Linked DNA regions of Homo sapiens: all the other regions are linked to region 1. Evidence: promoter capture Hi-C in human tissues and cell types (Jung and others, 2019). All regions are on one chromosome and are shown on one strand. The core of a region is centred on a gene start or on the middle of the fragment in contact, and the rest is flanking DNA. Distances in the headings are between cores, read along the strand shown. Region 1 holds the start of SULF2 (sulfatase 2). Region 2 overlaps PREX1 (phosphatidylinositol-3,4,5-trisphosphate dependent Rac exchange factor 1). Region 3 has its middle 130 kb from the start of LINC00494. Region 4 has its middle 100 kb from the start of LINC00494. Region 5 has its middle 73 kb from the start of LINC00494. Region 6 holds the start of LOC105372643 (a long non-coding RNA gene).

Region 1 (2,761 bases), core at 262-2,761:
GATTGGCTCTAATTTAATTAGAACCCTCTGGTGGTTCTGTAATGGGAGGCAGAGGCTGTCAAGAAATCACCTTCACTATTCACTACAAGCTGAAATTTGGAGAGCGCGCAGATCCGGGGGTGTCCTCCAGAGAAAGCCCGTCTCTCCTGCTCCCTGTCTCCCCCTGAGAACCTGCTCCAGCGCAGCCTCCCCTTCTCTGCCCCAAAAGTGGGGGTGGACCCGGTGGGAAACAGGCAGGGGACAGATGGAGGGGCGAGAGGGCGGGTGTCCCAACACGCACAGATGAGCAAATACCCAGATTGAAACGTAAGCTGAATGTAATTACTTGGTTAATTAAATATTGACTTTTAACTCAAAAAGTGATTAAAACAAGCTGCAGGAAGACTTTCCAGAAAGGGGGGCAGGGAATGAATCAAAGCTTTCAAGGGGGAGGAGGAGGAGGAGAGGGTCGTCACAGGCAGGTCTGGCTTGCTCTTCCTACTGTGTGCTGGGCCTACTGCGTGCAGGTGGGGGAGTTGCGGACCGAGGCCAGTGTGCAAACTAGGATTGCAGGCTTCCCTTTCCATCTTCCACCCCGAGACGGCATCTCTCTACCCTGCTGCCCTCCCAGTGAACCGGCAGCTTCTGGCGCGCAGGAGCCAGATCCTGTTCAGCCGCGTTTCCCTGGAACAGAACGCGGTGCCCGGCACGAGGGGGTGCTCCAGAAATGCTTGTAGAACGAATGAACGAACTACTATAAGGAATGTTTGGAAAAGTGCACTCCTAGAATTCACCGCTAGACTTCTGAAACCCCGAGGAGCCGGGGAGGGGAGCATCCCTCCGCCAGGCGATGGAAACTCGTTCTGCCCTGGCCTGGGAGGAAGTCTGCCTTTTCGATCCTGTTTGTCCTTTCGGTGTCTGCGAGTTTCCAACCACTCTGAAGATCCGGCCCACTGCTTCCCCGAGTCCTGCCCGGACAAGCCCCACGTGGGCTGGCATCTACCGGTCCCTTGGGTCTAAACCCTAAGGGTCAACAAGGCCATGCCCCTGCGGATGGCCGGCCCAGGCGCGCTCCCCTACCCGGGGCCGCCTGTGCTCGGTGTGCCGTGTCCGCGGGTCAGGGGCGCGGCGGGAAGTCCTCGCCCGCCCGCCAGCCAGCGGGGTCAAACAGGTCATCCCTCTGCGGACGGCCGGCGCCGGAGCCTCCCTCCCGCCCGCCCGGACCCACCTCCGCAAGCAGCGCTGGGGCTGGAGCCGGGCGGTCCGGACCAGCCCCGGCTCACCTGGGCGGCGCTCGCGGCCGGGCTCACGCCGGGGAAGGCTCCGGCCGCCGCGAGCCCCCGCCCGAGCCCCGCGTCCCCCAGCCACCCACCTGCCCCCCACGCCCCACTCACCAGCGCGCACGGCCCCGGCAACCTCACCCGGAGCGGGGCGCCGCCGCCGCCTCTGCCGCAGCCCGGCCGGGCCGCTGGGCGCAGGGGACTCCGCGCCGCCGCTGCCGCTGCCGCCGCCGCCGCCGCCGCTGCCGCTGCTGCATCCCCCGGCGAGCGCTGCTGCTCCTCCTCCTGCCTCCTCCCCGCCCCCCAACGCCGCCGCCACCGCCCCCGGCCCCCTCCCCGCGCGCCGCCCCAGCCAAAGTCCGGCTCCGCACCCCGCCCGGACCGCTCTTAAATCGCCCCAGCCCGGCCGGCCACGCTGCCCCAGCCAGCCCCTTGGCACGGCGCTACCGCCCCCCGCTCGCCTGCCCGCCGGCCTCCACGCAGGGGAGGCGGGCGCGCTCCGGGGCGGGGAGCGTCGGGCCGGGAGCCGCGGACGGCTGGGGCCCGGGGCGCGGGGGGCCCAGCCGCGGTGCCCTCCTCGAGCCCTCCGCGCGCTAGCGCTTTTACCTCCGGCCTGGGGGACGCGCGGCCCGCGACCCGGCCCTGCCTGTCCCCGGCGCACGGCCCCGGCCCCGGCCCCGAAGTCCAGCTCCGGACGGGGCAGTGAACGCAGAGCTGGGGTCCCGGCGGCTCTCGACCTCCCGATGCCTCCGGACTCGGCTGGCCGCGCTCCCGGCGCCGAGCGCGCACCCTCGCCGGGACACACAGACGCACACTCACTCGACACACTCTCGCTCCTGCTCGCCCTCGGCGGAGAGTTGAAACAGATGTGGGATTCGCCCAGGAGCTGGAAACGAGGGAGGGAAGCGAGCCAGAGCCTTGTGTGCACGTGTGTGTGCGTAACACACAAACCAGGGGGCATCGCTAATAAATCAAATATCGTGATAAATTCAGGAGGGCCATCGATCAGGTCCACTTGGCTGGAAACGACGTGAATCTGCCTCTTTTCCGCTTTCTTCTTCTCCTCTCTCGGAGCTGGAGGGAGCCAAATGTTCCGCGGGGAGTGCGACAGCCCCGGCCGGGCGCTCCCCTCGTAATGACACGTTAATAAATGTTTTCTTTTATCTGCTTTCACAGGACTCGCCCCGGTCTGCAAACACTCGACTGCCTTTGCCGAAAGCCTCGCGCTCGCCTCCAGCCACACACATTTGCCATTGGAGAGGCCGGCGCCGGCCGCGACCCGCAGCTCAATCGCAGGGCAAACCGAGCTGCCTGTGCGCGCCCGAGAACTCCCCGAGAAATTAACTTCGGCTCAAGTGAAAATAGCAGCTGTTGTCCAGAAATGGCCCGGGAGTAGCATAGAAAGGAGAAACCGGCTTCCTCCGAAAGGGGAGGAATTGGACTCAAGGGGGTGCTGTCTACCGTGGTTTCCGCTGTCCCTCGCGCCACAGAAGAGGCCGGAG
Region 2 (2,761 bases), core at 115-2,614, 870 kb after region 1:
GGAGGGCAGCTGGGAAAGGTATTCCTCCTGAGGGGAAACTCTGCTGGGGCCTGACCCTGTTGTGTGGGGACACGAGGGTCACACCGGGGTGGCCATCTTATGTCTGTTAGGGCCTGGCGAAGAAAGATGAAGACCTGCTGACCCGAACCAAGATTCACAACTGCCTCCTTCCAACCGCTCACATCACTGGCAAGGTCAACCTAGCCGCTCCGGCCATGGGTATGTCGCTCCTTGCAGCCCAAAGCATTCCTAATTGCCACAGGGGCAAGCTGGGCTCCAGCCAGCACGGCAGGTGCATCTCCCCCACCCACCTGCACACGCCCCAGGCAAAGCCGGAAGGCCCCAGGGCTGAATCCTCGGCCAGCCACACCCTCACTCTCCTAACCTATCCTCCTGTAGGCTTTGCATCAGACAGCAATGAGCTTATCTTATTCAAGCCACTGTGACTGGTTGCAGAAAACTGAGACACCTGCTTTTTTCCTGTACCTCCCCACAATGTCCAGCAGAGGGCAGTGGTGGAACACACCAGGAGCACAGCCCCGGGACTCTGCACTCACTCCCAGCTACTGTAGCCACTGCAGACAGTGGGTCCTGGACTCAGTTTCTCCACGTGAGCAATGAGAGAAGAGGAGTCAGCGATCATTCCAGAATCTCCTGGGCTGGGCTGCCTCAAGGAGGGTGAAGAGAGACACCCCGCTCTGCCACCTGCACACGGTCCCTGCCAGCTCCCCCGAGGGCCTCACCTCAGCCAGCGAGCCCCTCTGGACGGACTTCACCACCACAGCCTTGTTCTTCTCCTCGATGTCAAAGCCATAGTCCTCCTCCTGGGGCAGGATCTGGGGGCCCAGGGCAGAAGGAACCCGGTCAGGGAGCGAGGTGGGCCTACGGCCAGCCCCACCGTGGCCCCCACAGGACCATGACCTCGTCCCAGGTCTAGTAGGGAAGTGGCCAGATCCAGGTGGGCGAGACAGAGCAAAACGCAAACAGCACCTGGCAGAGCCAGTGCTCACTCTGTGCCTGCCACTGGCTTAACGAATCACACGGATCCAAAGGTGTCCAGCCACCAAGAATGTGGAGTCAGGGAGTTTAGGGAGGAGCGGTCCCACCCCAGGGCAGGATGGCAGGCATGCTAGAAACAGGTCTGGGGGTTCCCCAGTGCGGGGGATACAGGGAAAGGCACTCATTCAGTCAACAGACATTGATTGAGATGCTGCCCATCACACGGGCCAGGCAGTTCTCATGGGTGCTGGAGACACCATCTAGAACAAGACAAACAAGCCCAGCCCTGCTTAGTGCGGGAGGCCAACTATAAACAAATAAACAAAAGAAATACAGGATGTGATGCAGGGAGTGTACGTAGTTGGAATTAAAGCACTTAATGGGATAGGGCACGGCAAGGGGGCAGAGAAGGTGCTATCGGAGCTGAGGCCTGAACGAAATGAAAAACAAAACTTCATAAAGAGTGGAGGAACATGCTCCAGGCAGCAGACACAGCACGTACAAAGGTCCTGAGGGAGGCCCCAAGGCACTGGAGGATAAGAAAAGAGATCAGGAGGTCAGGCGCAATGGCTCACGCTTGTAATCCCAGCACTTTGGGAGGCCGAGACGGGTTGATCGCTTGATCCCAGGAGTTCAAGACCAGCCTGGGCAACATAGCAAAACCCTGTCTTTATAAAAAATACAAAAATTAGCTGGGTGTGGTGGCGCAGGTCTGTTGTCCTAGCCACTGGGGAGGCAGAGGAGAGGAGAGAGGAGAGAGGGGAGGGGAGAAAGGGGAAGGGAGGGGAGAGAGGGGAATGGAGGGGAGGGGAGGGAAGAAAGAAAGGGGAGGAGAGAAAGAAAAGGAAGGAAGGAAGGAAGGAAGGAAGGACGGGCACGAGAGAGAGAGAGAAAGAAGAAAAGAAAACAAGAAAAGAGAAAAGAAAGAAGAGAGAGGAAGGAAGGAGGAAGGGAGGGAAAGAGGAAAGAGAGAAGGGGAGGGGAGGGGAGTGAGAGGTTTAATTTTATCCTAAGTGTGACGGGAAGCATTGGGGGACTTTACAGTGAGGGGCATGAAATCAGAGGGAACAGCAGTCCCTGCAGTACTATGGGAGAGAAGTTAATGGAGCCGTCTTCATATGAGTCAGGCTTCAGCTCCAACCCTGGCAGTGACCAGAAACCTAACCTCTGAGCCTCTGTCTTGACTGCCTGCTGCAGGCCACGCGTTAAGATGGGGGCTGCTGTGGGGTATGCAGGATGAGTTGCTTCAGGAGGCCAACCTCTCTATACAGTGTACGGGGAGGGGACAGGAGAGGCAAGGGAACAGAAAGGGAGACCTGCAAGCCCAATCTCTTTTGTTAGGAGGGTAGTCTCAGCCAGTGATGCAGCCTGGCTTCTTGGCAGAGTTGCCCCCTACCACCTAGAATCCACCTATTCTGGTACTCCAAGCTGAGCCCCCTTCCCTGTGCATAACCAGAAGGTCGCCCAGCTCCCATGCCTGCAGGGGGCTCTGGCAAGGAAGGGACAGCTGCTCAGCTGTGCTCCTACCAGCAGGCGCTTGGCCAGAATGTTCTCCACCAGCTTGAAGTCGTTGCGAAGCTGTTTGTTCTTGCTGCTGGTCCCCTCCATCTCCTCGTCAGCATGAAAGCGGAAGTACTGGGACTCATCCCTGAACTCGCTCTTCTCCAGCACTGCAGATCCACAGATGTGCACTCAGTGGTCAGATTCACAGGGAAAGTTTCAGCCATGTTTGCCAACTGGCAGGCACAGGCTGGAACTAGGC
Region 3 (2,761 bases), core at 91-2,590, 700 kb after region 1:
TTAATGTGCCAGCAAAAGCCTCTGGTAAACAGGGAGCAGCGTTACAGCCAGCAGAGCCCAAGGGCTTGCCGGAGCTGATGGAGATTTAAGGGAGCAGGTTCGAGCTCCTCCTGAGGCAGAATGAGCGGAAGGCTCTCTCCGTCTCCTGAGTGTCAGGCTGGACTCAAAAGGGAGAGAAAATTGTTTAAATGAAACAAAACACTGTCATTGCAATGTGACATTCTCTTCCCTTTTTTTTCCTTTTTTTTTTTTTTTTTTGGACACAGGTTCTTGTTCTGTCACCCACCCAGGCTGGATTACAGGGGCATGATCTTGACTCACTGCAGCCTCAACCTTCCAGGCTCAGATGATCCTCCTGCCTCCTCAGTAGCTGGGACCACAGGCATGTGCCACCACATCTGGCTTTTTTTTTTTTTTAAGACATGAAGTCTCGCCACATTGCCCAGGCTGGTGGATTACAGGTGTCAGCCACCACACCTGGCTCCCTTCCCTATCTCACCTGACAGTGTCTCTACATCCCCATCTCTTACCACTCTCCCAATTTCTTAGATACTCTGTCCCCATCTCTGATCCTCCTGATCTCTGGCCTTTGCACTTGCTGTTCCTTCCACCTAGTGTGCTGTTCCCTCAAATCACCCATGGCAGCCCCTTCTTATCCTTCAGGACTCAGCCCACATGTCACCTCCTCAGAGAGGCCTTCCCAGACCACCCAAAATGAGACAGTAGCTCCACCCCCATGACTCTTTATCCCATCTCCCAATCTGTGTCCTTTATTGTATCTTTCACAGTCTGAATGATGTTTATGTGTTGACCTGCATGCTGTCCATCCTCATAGACTGGAACTTCCTGAGAGTGTCATGAGATCAGATGGCTCTTACGGCTCTTACTCACCGCTGTGTCCCAGACACCAGCACAGCAGCCTGTGTTTAAAGATGGTCTGTCAATATTTGTTAAGTGACTGGACAGATACGGAAGTGGACAGTTACACTGACAGTTTTTACAGGGGGACGTGTTGCTTTGTCTTCGACTTGTTCCATTGTTCTCGTATATAACGTGGGCCTGACCAGAAGGAGGTGCTGCTTGGACATGACAAAAAACTTTCACACAATCTGTTGGACAATAAACCACATAAGTACCCCTTCTCTATCCATTATTCTACACCTTTGTGGATACATCAATAGATTTCATGTGGGCTCAGGAATTTTGAAATATATATTTTAACAAATTGCTCATATAGACAGGGATCCTAAAATATAGACAGACATATAGATAGTCACCTGAGCCCTGCACACTCTACGCATGACTTTGCAATCCATCCTTTGAGGAAGTCTGCAGCAAAGACGGCCCTTCAGAGCTGTGATGAATCGAGTCAAGGGGCTGGACCTTTAGACCCCTGTGTTTACTACTAGTCTTTGGAGATGGAGGGACCCCAGGAAGGGTGACTGGGCAAAGCAGCTCCTGTCAGCCAGGGGCATTTTCTGGGGAGGGTCTCAGCTGTGAGCTCTCAGCAGGCAACCCCCTGGGCAGTGGGGCATGCATGCCTGCTCCTGAAAGGGGATGTGGGGGACACATCCCAGCATCTGCTCCAAGCCATGAATCTTTCTCACCAAGGCCATTGTGCAAAAGCTTCCTGACAGGCCTCCCTTCTTCCACTCTTGCTTTCCCTATTTTCCACACAGCAGCCAGAGGAAGCCTGTGAAACCCAGGTCAGGTCCTGTGCTTCCTCTGCTCAGAACTCTCCATGGTTTCCACATACTCAGAGTAAAACCCCGAGCTTCATGATAACCATGAGGCCCGCAGCTTCTGCCCCCAAGGCTTCTCTGACCTCACCTCCCGCTGCTCCTCTCCTCACTCGGCCGCAGCTGTGGCTCCCTCCCTGATTTTCCTGGAACATGCCAGCACACCTGTTGCTGGCTTTGTACTCACTATTCTTTTGCCTGGAAGGCTCCACCCTTGTCATCCTGGCCCACAGCCTCAGCTCCTCCGGTCTTTGCTCAAATGGTGGCTTCTCAGCGGGGTCTTCCCTGACCATCCTACTGAAAATCAACAACCACCCCCCATAGGGGGTTGAACAAGGGCCCCCCATACATGTCTACATTCAAACCCCTGGGACCTGTGTATATGTCCATTGCAAAGAGGTTTTGCTGATGTAATTAAGTAAAGGATCTTGAGATAGAAAGATGACTCTAGATGACCTGGCTGGGCCCAGTGTAATCACAGGGGTCCTTATAAGAGGGAGGCAGGAGAGTCTGAGTCAGAGGAGCTATAGTGACAGGGCAGAGACTGGAATCATGTGCTTGAATATGGAGGAAGGGGCCGCGAGCCCAGGAATACAAGGGGCTTAAAGGAAAACACAGGCCAGACCAGCACTTTGGGAGGCAGAGGCAGGTGGATCACTTGAGGTCAGGAGTTCGAGACCAGCCAGGCCAACATGGTGAAATACCATCTCTACTAACACAAAAAAAATTAGCCGGACATGGTGCACACACATGTAGTCCCAGCTACTTGGGAAGTTGAGGCAGAAGAATATCTTGAACCCAGGAGGCAGAGGCTGCAGTGAGCCAAGATTGGACCACTGCACTGCAGCCTGGGCAATAGAGTGAGATTCTGCCTCTAAAAAAAAGAAAGAGACAAAGAAAGATGGCAGGGCGGGGTGTTGGGGAGAGAGAGAGAGAGAGAGAAAAGAAGGAAGGAAGGAAGGAAGGAAGGACAGGAGGAAGGGAAAGGAAAGGAGAGGAGAGGAGAAAGAAGGAAAGAAAGA
Region 4 (2,761 bases), core at 125-2,624, 680 kb after region 1:
AGCACAGGGCAGAACCCTGGCTGGAAGCCGCTCAGCCCTGGGACCTCCCGAGCCCACCTGGGATCAGGCCCTGGGGAACAGCTATGGGGGACAGGGACTCCCAGTGCACAGAACAGGCCATGAGCTGGACAAGCTGCTCCTTCTCATAATGTCAGACCCTTCTGCTGACCCACCTAGGACCGGGAGCTTGCAGACAATCCTGGGCCCAGAGAAGCAGGCAGATGTGGCTGTTGGTAGCACTAATATGGGTTGTGAATATCACCTGGTAGTTATTATTACTTTACTTACTTTACCCCAGCCACTTGATCCTGCACACATCCCCTCACTTCATGCTCTGGATGAAGTTGGGGACCCCTGGATGAGACCACACCATGGGCCTGAAAGTCACGGGAGGAATTATATTAGATGTGGTGGTCTTGGAGGGCTGCTAGGAGGAGGAGAAATGTGTAGAGAGCTGGATGGACTGAGTGATGAGCAATACACATTTCTAGAGGAAGAGAGTGCAGGCAGAGAAAACAGCAAGTGCAGAGTCCCTGCGCTGGGAAAGGTCAGTGTGACCACAGTGGAGTGACAGAGAGGGAGGAGAGGAGGTCTGAGAGCTACCTGAGGCCCAGATCATGTGGGGCTCTCCAGGCCACAGCCAGGAGTGTGGATCTGCTTCTGAGTGAGGGAAGAAGCCATTGGAAGGTTCAGGGCAGTGAGCCGAGATGTGAGTGACATGATCTGATTTGCATCTGCCTCCGTCATGACTTTCGAAATAGCTGCATCTCATCTATATTCTGATCTAGTCAAAATTTATCTCTAAATCAGTTACATTTTTAGAATTTTTTAAAGGAACTTTGATATTCCACTACTGCAAATGAAAAATCAGTATCACTTCCATGAATAGAAGAGTATCCATGAAAACACACAACAAAAACAGAGCCGTGTTATTACTTTCTAGCCAGAGGCTGCTAAAGACGATGCACCTGAAACCTGTGCTCCCTTTGTAACCACCCAAGGGGTTCACCTTGCCCACTGCCTAGACTGAGCCGACTTATCAAGACAGGGGAAATTGCAATGGAGAAAGTAACCCATGCAGAGCCGGCTGTGCGGGAGACTGGAGCTTTATTGTTACTCAAATCAGTCTCCCTGAGCATTCGGGGATCAGAGTTCTTAAAGATAATTTGGTAAGTAGGCGCTCAGAAAGTGGGGAGAGCTGATTGGTCAGGTTGGAGATGGAATCATGGGGGTAGAAGTGAGGTTTTCATGCTGTCTTCTGTTCCTGGGTGGGACGGCGGAACTGGTTGAGGCAGATGACCGGTCTGGGTGGTGTCAGCTGATCCATCAAGTGCAGGGGCTGCAAAATATCTCAAGCGCTGATCTTAGGTTTTACAACAGTGATGTTATTCCCAGGAGCAATTTGGGGAGGTTCAGACTCTTGCAGCCAGAGGCTGTAATTTGTTAGTCCTGCAAAGGCAGACGGCTCCCCAGGCAAGAAAAGGCTATAACCAATTTTGTTTGAGTCAAATCATGAACTGAATTCTTTCTCAAAGTTAGTTTGGCCTGTGCCCAGCAAGGAACAAGGGCAGTTTAAAGGTTAGAAGCAAGATAGAGTCAGTTAGGTGTGATGTCTTTGACTGTCATAATTTCCTCAGTTATAATTTGTGTGAAGGCAGTTTCACCTTTGTCTCTCTCAAGCAGTAGAGAGGTATTGAAGTCACATGAGCATTGAACTGAAACTATCTCCATGACTATCTCAGAGAGACTGAAAGACACTGGGCAAGGGAATACATTTCACACTGTGGGATTCCACAGCGTTTCATGCTGGTTCAGGAACCACCCAAAATCATCTCACATATTCACATATCATTTTTTTTTTTTTTTTGAGACGGTGTTTCGCTCTTTCACCCAGGCTGGAGTACAGTGGCGCGATCTCGGCTCACTGCAACCTCCATCTCCCGGGTTCAAGCGATCCTCCTGCCTCAGCCTCCTGGGTAGCTGGTGTTATAGATGTCCGCCACCATGCCCAACTAATTTTTGTATTTTTAGTAGAGACGGAGTTTTGCCACGTTGGCCAGGCTGGTCTTGAACTCCTAACCTCAGGTGATCCACCTGCCTCAGACTCCCAGAGCGCTAGGATTACAGCTGAGAGCCACAACGCCTGGCCTATCTCACGTATCTTTGGTGGGCACCCCTCCACTCTTTGGGGAAACACCATTTTGAAATACAGTATATTTTCAATTTGATATTTAAGGTCCTCAAGGGAACAAAATCATAAGATTTTTATCTTTTCCTCCTCAAACACATGGTGGTAAATGCTTCATAGATATTCATCTCTACCCTTTACCTTCAGAAGCCATGGGGATGTTGCTTTGGTTTTGGTTTTGGGTTTTGCTGGAGCGTTTGGGTGTTTATCTTTTGCATAGTTGTTTAGGAGATAACCATGGGCTACAGGAGAAGGAGAGACGTTTTTGCACTACTTTTCTTTCCCCTGACCATCCTGATGGGCATAATTGCTACTGCACCAGCCTCATCCTTTCTCCCGGGTCCACTCCTGCCCTTTCCAGCCTGTTGTCCATGTGGCAGCCAGAGAGCTCATTGTGGAGTGTGAAGGTCACAGTGCCCCCTGCTCAGACATCTATGATGCTCATGACATTGCACGAAACCCTCCTTCCTCATCATGGCACTCAAGACTGCTCCCTGCCAGCCTCTCTGTCCTGCTCCAACCTCAGGGCACCCCAAACAGACCTTCTCTCTGACCTTTGAACTTGCTGAACCC
Region 5 (2,761 bases), core at 154-2,653, 650 kb after region 1:
CCGAGGAGAAGGAAGGAAGTCAGTACAGAGTGAGTATCTGAGGAGAAGGAAGTCAGTAGAGAGTGAGTATCTGAGGAGAAGGAAGGAAGTCAGTACAGAGTGAAGACCCGAGAAGAAGGAAGGAAGTCAGTACAGAGTGAGTATCTGAAGAGAAGGAAAGAAGTCAGTAGAGAGTATCTGAGGAGAAGGAAAGAAGTCAGTACAGAGCAAGTATCTGAGGAGAAGAAAGGAAGTCAGTACAGACCGAGGACCCAAGGAGGTTCTGATCTGGGCCACTAGGGCTTCCTCCCACTGGGGGCCTCTTGAAGAGCTGGGCTGTTTGTGCACTGACTCCTGTCTGTCGCTGGTTGTGGAAGGTTCCTAGAGTCATAACTGCCTGACCCTTCCCCCTACATGGGCTGAGCATGCCCCAGCAGCCAGAGAAAGCCCCTGGCCCACAGTTGGAGGGGCTGGTTATAGGAAGCCGTTGCATAGATGTAAACCAGGAGCCTAAGGACCAGGCACAAAAGCCTCTGTCACACTGTCCCTGCAGCTGGGGTGAGTCTGCGAGTAGCTAAAACTGTTACAGGAAAGGAGTACCAATCCAGACCCCAAGAGAGGGTTCTTGGATCTCACACAAGAAAGAATTCAGGGCAAGTCCACAGAGTAAAGTGAAAGCAAGTTTATTAGAAAAGTAAAGGAATAAAAGAATGGCTAGTCCGCAGACAGAGCAGCCCTGAGGGTGGGCCCATTTTTATGGTTATTTCTTGGTGATATGCCAAACAAGGGGCGGATTATTCATGCCTCCTATTTTTAGACCATATAGGGTAACTTCCTGACGTTGCCATGGCATTTGTAAACTGTCATGGTGCTGGGGGGAGTGTAGCAGTGAGGACAACCAGAGGTCACTCTCGTGGCCATTTTGGTTTTGGTGGGCTTTGGCTGGCTTCTCTACTGCAGCCTGTTTTATCAGCGAGGTCTTTATGACCTGTATCTCGTGCCAACCTTCTCATCCTGTGACTTAGAATGCCTGTCTGGGAATGCCCTTTATGACCTGTATCTCGTGCCAACCTTCTCATCCTGTGACTTAGAGTGCCTGTCTGGGAATGCAGCCCAGTAGATCTCAGCCTCATTTTACCCAGCTCCTATTTAAGATGGAGCTGCTCCGGTTTACATGCTTCCTACAAAACCAGGCTTGGCTTTATTTTCACCTCCACATTCCCAGCGTGTCTGCTGACTAAATGGATGAATCCATCTTTGGAGTTTTTTTTACCCTTGGAGGGTAGGAGGAATTTTTCAGCCGGTGGGTTCAGCAGGAGCTACAGTGACTGAATGGCCCCTAAAAAGTAGCAAATGTCTGAGTTGCCATTTGTTGAAGGTTCATGGAAATGCCAAGTCCAAGTGGCAATTAGCATGAGTCTGTGGGATTTCCCGCCTGAAAAGCAAATGAAGGATTTCTTCTATTCTTCTGAATTGTAAACCAAGAATAAAATTCTAAGCCCCCCAAGCAACTGAATGGACCCCTCCTGTCAGCCAAGGGTACCCTAAATCAACCTGAAACACTAGTTCAAGCCACGATGGGAATGGATGGTCAGACAGGCCTCATTACACCTCGTCCTTTTGCAGTTGAGGCACAGCTGACCAGCATTAACATTAAAACAGAGTCCTAAAGACTGACAATAGACTTTTTATAGCAATAAGATACCAACATGACAGCGGGCTCTGAAAGAAATTGAAGTATTTTACCCTAAAATATATTTCTTTGACATATTGTGAAATAGCCCTGATAAGAAACATGTATTAGGTTGGTGCAAAAGTAATTGCGGTTTTTGCCATTTAAAGTAATGGTATTAAAAGTAATTGTAATGCCATTAAAAGTAATACAATCTCTTCTCTCTAAAGCCAGCTACTTGGAGGCTTCATCTGTGTAATAAGAACCTCAGTCACCACAGCCCCTTATCTTAACCCAGACACTCCTTTCTATTGATTCCGAGACTTTAGGTAACCACTTAACTCTTTCAACCAATTGCCAATCAGAAAATCTTTGAATCCACCTATGTCCTGGAAGCACCCCACTTTGAGTTGTCCCACCTTTTTGAACCAAACCAGTGTACATCTTACATGTATCGATTGATGTCTTATGTCTCTCTAACATGTATAAAACCAAGCTATAGTCTGACCCCCTTGGGCACGTGTTCTCAGGCTCTCCTGGGGCTTTGTCATGGGTCATGGTCACTCAAATCTGAATGTGACCATGGATCGTGGTCACTCACATCAGAATAAATCTCTCCAAATACTTGACAGGGGTTGATTGTTTTCATCAACGATAATAGAAGATAGTTTCATTTAAGGAAAGCTTTGAAAGTCAACAAAACTCCAGGCATTTCTTTTAAGGGCGCCCCCGCCCACCACCCTTTGTTTTTCCCTTCACAGATAAAAACAGGGAGTTCCCTCCCAAGCAACAAGGCTCTTGAAGTGGAGTGGGGATGAAGGGGCACTTCGTCTCAACAGGGCCTCCCTTGGAGAATTTAATGTCTGCTGGATGCTCCCTTGAAAAGAAATAAACCTCATATGCCAAATATTTAGCCCTCCAAAACTGATAAAGGAGGAAAGGGAATTACCATTTCAGCAGGGGATAACTTACTTTCAGATTTTTTTTTTTTTAAAGACAGAGTTTCATTCTTGTTGCCTAGGCTGGAGTGCAGTGGTGCAATCTCAGCTTACTGCAATCTCTGCCTCCTGGGTTCAAGAGATTCTCCTGCCTCAGCCTCCAGAGTAGCTA
Region 6 (2,761 bases), core at 179-2,678, 610 kb after region 1:
AAAGGAAAAAAAAATCATGTATCCATCCCTTTGGGGGTTGAATGTCTTCTTTAATCAGGGGTTTATACAGCAGGGAATAAATGTAACCATGTGTGGGAAAACAGGAATTAGGGAAGAAGAGTTGGTCAACAAGAGGCAGGTGGTCAGCAGTCGTGATGGGTGAGGGATCTGGTGTCTCTCATTGTCCAGATACAGTGATCTGGTGAGTTTCAGTTTCTTGATGCTATGTGGGAGGACTGATGGCTGCTTTCTTGAGAAAGGAACTCAGATAAGACAAATGTAACTTTCTCAAGTTGAGACTGGGAGGGTCAATTTCTATGTTTACTCAAAAGAAACCATAAACATCAGTTCTATGGGACAATTGGGCTGGTTTTCGGGACAATTACCCCACCAAGTACAGGCGCAAAGCTGCAGGGAACACAGGATGCAACCGGAGGAGGGACTGGTCTCACCTCCATGGCTCTGATGCCTCATTATCACCTCCAAGCAGGAGCCCTGCTAGGCCTCTCCCACAGCCATAGGAGGCCCTGGAGAGCCCTGGTCTTAGTGCCCCTCACCATTCTCTGTCCCTGGTCACCAAGGACTGGCCAAGACCAAGTGGACTGCACCCTCTGCCACCCCCACGCAGGTGCCTGCTGCCCTGAGCTGCTTCCCTGATGGGCAGCCATGGGGCTTCCCCCTCTTCAGAGCCACTGCAGACAAAAGCTCTCACTGCCCAGAGCATGTGTTCTAGAACTCAAACAAGTAAATGACTGAGAAACTGAGTATGTGCAGGGGTGGCTGGGTTGTGGGACAAGGCAGGCAGGGAGGGGATGGAGGATGGGAAGGGCACTTGGGCTCGGGGAGTGGGAGGGGTCAAAGGTCTCAGGGAGAGTGGGGGATCCTCATGCCTCAGAGCTGGGGAAGACCGTAGTGGGGATGAGGGAGGACTTGGGTCCTGGGCCTCCTTGGCTGCCTGGGGATAAAGGGGAGATGGGAACAGCCGGCCAGTTCCCAGGGAAGCAATGGTAGGGCTGCGGCTATGAGCAAACCAGGGAACTGGGTCTTGCAGCGGCGCAGAGCTCTGGCATCTCTTCCGTCCCGTCCCTGGGCCAGGCCTAGAGGAGACTGGTCCGTAGCATGGTCCATGGTGTTGCTGCCCCTGTGGAGTTTCAGGAGCCCCAAGGGCTGCCCAGGGGCCAAAGCATCTCCTGTGACCTGCCCCCACCCAGCAAAGGGAGAACCTGGGATCCCCCTCTTCTGAAACAGTCTTTCCAGAGGCAGCTGCAGCTTCTCATCTCACAGAGGCAGCATCACTCAGAACCCCCAGAAAGGCCACTGATTAAATGCCACGGAGGAGAGTGGTGATGGGGTCTGTGGACGGCAGCTCAGAGCCAGAGACAGGACCGGGTGATGGATGGCCCCAGGCCCCGCCGCTCCCTGCCCAGTGCGTATTCTGGGTACAAGGGTAATTAAGAGAAGTGTTTCTTTTTTACAGCCAGGTGCCTTTCCCTCAGGTGCTGAGGTGGTTAGAGATTAAAACATCATGAACAGAATATGGAGTCACAGAGAAAGAGCAGCCAATGAGCCCAGCTTCCAGGAGGGTCACGGGAGGAGGTAGAGCCGCACCGTAGGTTACACAATGGCCACCCAGAGACACAAGTCCTCATCCTTGCAACCTGTACATGCAACCTTGCTTGTCAAAAGGGTTTGCAGATGTCATGAAGTTAAGGACTTTGACATGGAAGGATTGCGCTAGATCACCCAGGTGGCCCCTAAATGCTATCGCAAGAGTCCTTATGGGAAACAGGCAGAGGGAGATGACACAGACGCACAGAGGAGGAAGGGGCAGAGACTGGAGCGATGCAGTCACAAGCCCGAGAAGTGGGAGGAGGTGAGGGACCGAGTCGCCTGGGGAGCCCCTGGAGGGAACACAGCCCTGGGATTTTGGACTTCTGGCCTCCAGAACTGTGGGAGAACGAATTTCTATTGTTTTAAGGCACCAACTGAGTGGGAACTTGTTCTAGCAGCCCTAGGAAGCTGATGCAAGAGTGGGGAGAAGAAGCTGCCTTTATTCAGCCTAACTCACGGACAAAGCGGGAACAGAAATCCCACACATCATTTCCTTGTTGCTGAGGAACGGCTTTGCTGCCCAGAGCCCTTGGTGACTTACAACTCCTCGAGGTGGACTGATGGGCAGAGAAGGCTACTGAGACAGAGAAAAAACATAAAACAAAACAGGGATTTGTCAAGGCCCTTTGGTATTTAACCACAAAAGAGATATAAACAGCCAAGGGCCTAGATTCACTTTGAAGGCTCAGTAAGTGGGCCTTCAGCTAAGACAGGCTTCTGTCCATCAATCCATCCTTCATTTGCTGAGCAGGTATTGTGCCAGGCACTTTTCTAGGTCCTAGAATACAGCTCTGACCAGGACAGACCTGGCCCGGGCCCTCAGAGGGTGAGTGTTCTGGTAAAGGAGGCACAATAAACAAGGAAATAAAAAACAAGATTGAAGAGGGTGAAACTGCTCTACAGGAAACAAACTGGGAATTGAAAGAGCAAAGGGAAGAAAGGCCACATTGGATGGGGAGGTGAGGACGGCCTCTCTGAAGAGGTGAGCTTTGAGCTCAAGCTGAGCACTGAGAAGATTCCAGCCCAGTAACAGCTATCAGGAGATCACGCCAGGTCAAGGACACAGCAGGTGCCAAGGCCTGGAGGCAGGACTGGGCTGGACAAGTCCAGGGAACAGAGAGGATGCCAGGACTGAGGACGTAGGGAGAGC

The links. The method cuts DNA at HindIII sites, captures the fragments that hold promoters and counts their contacts. A contact is called where the count stands out against the background at its distance.
Region 2: a contact is called between a fragment that was not itself captured here and the fragment with the promoter of SULF2 in region 1, in 1 of the 25 tissues and cell types used here (hippocampus).
Region 3: a contact is called between a fragment that was not itself captured here and the fragment with the promoter of SULF2 in region 1, in 5 of the 25 tissues and cell types used here (IMR-90 fibroblasts, aorta, heart left ventricle and 2 more).
Region 4: a contact is called between a fragment that was not itself captured here and the fragment with the promoter of SULF2 in region 1, in 2 of the 25 tissues and cell types used here (lymphoblastoid cells and spleen).
Region 5: a fragment that was not itself captured here is called in contact with the fragment with the promoter of SULF2 in region 1 in 3 of the 25 tissues and cell types used here (IMR-90 fibroblasts, dorsolateral prefrontal cortex and lymphoblastoid cells).
Region 6: a contact is called between a fragment that was not itself captured here and the fragment with the promoter of SULF2 in region 1, in 5 of the 25 tissues and cell types used here (dorsolateral prefrontal cortex, heart right ventricle, lymphoblastoid cells and 2 more).

What each region holds. Positions count from the first base shown.
Region 1 is chr20:47,783,970-47,786,730 of GRCh38, forward strand. It overlaps SULF2 (sulfatase 2), which reads right to left and starts at 1,512. Exons shown (of 21, transcript NM_001387048.1): 1 at 1,374-1,512. It overlaps LOC124904920 (a long non-coding RNA gene), which reads left to right and starts at 1,785. Exons shown (of 2, transcript XR_007067618.1): 1 at 1,785-2,193; 2 at 2,436-2,761. RefSeq lists an enhancer at 2,630-2,761. The HindIII fragment of the contact is 5,454 bases long and covers 1-2,761 here.
Region 2 is chr20:48,657,393-48,660,153 of GRCh38, forward strand. It overlaps PREX1 (phosphatidylinositol-3,4,5-trisphosphate dependent Rac exchange factor 1), which reads right to left. Exons shown (of 40, transcript NM_020820.4): 16 at 2,527-2,669; 17 at 744-836. Among named protein-coding and RNA genes, the nearest start is that of PREX1, 170 kb to the right of the region's middle. The HindIII fragment of the contact is 7,109 bases long and covers 1-2,761 here.
Region 3 is chr20:48,484,399-48,487,159 of GRCh38, forward strand. No RefSeq gene overlaps it. Among named protein-coding and RNA genes, the nearest start is that of LINC00494, 130 kb to the left of the region's middle. The HindIII fragment of the contact is 5,666 bases long and covers 1-2,761 here.
Region 4 is chr20:48,460,219-48,462,979 of GRCh38, forward strand. No RefSeq gene overlaps it. Among named protein-coding and RNA genes, the nearest start is that of LINC00494, 100 kb to the left of the region's middle. RefSeq lists an enhancer at 524-663. The HindIII fragment of the contact is 7,169 bases long and covers 1-2,761 here.
Region 5 is chr20:48,431,587-48,434,347 of GRCh38, forward strand. No RefSeq gene overlaps it. Among named protein-coding and RNA genes, the nearest start is that of LINC00494, 73 kb to the left of the region's middle. The HindIII fragment of the contact is 3,229 bases long and covers 1-2,761 here.
Region 6 is chr20:48,392,079-48,394,839 of GRCh38, forward strand. LOC105372643 (a long non-coding RNA gene) reads left to right here and starts at 2,103. Exons shown (of 3, transcript XR_936812.3): 1 at 2,103-2,761. The HindIII fragment of the contact is 7,322 bases long and covers 1-2,761 here.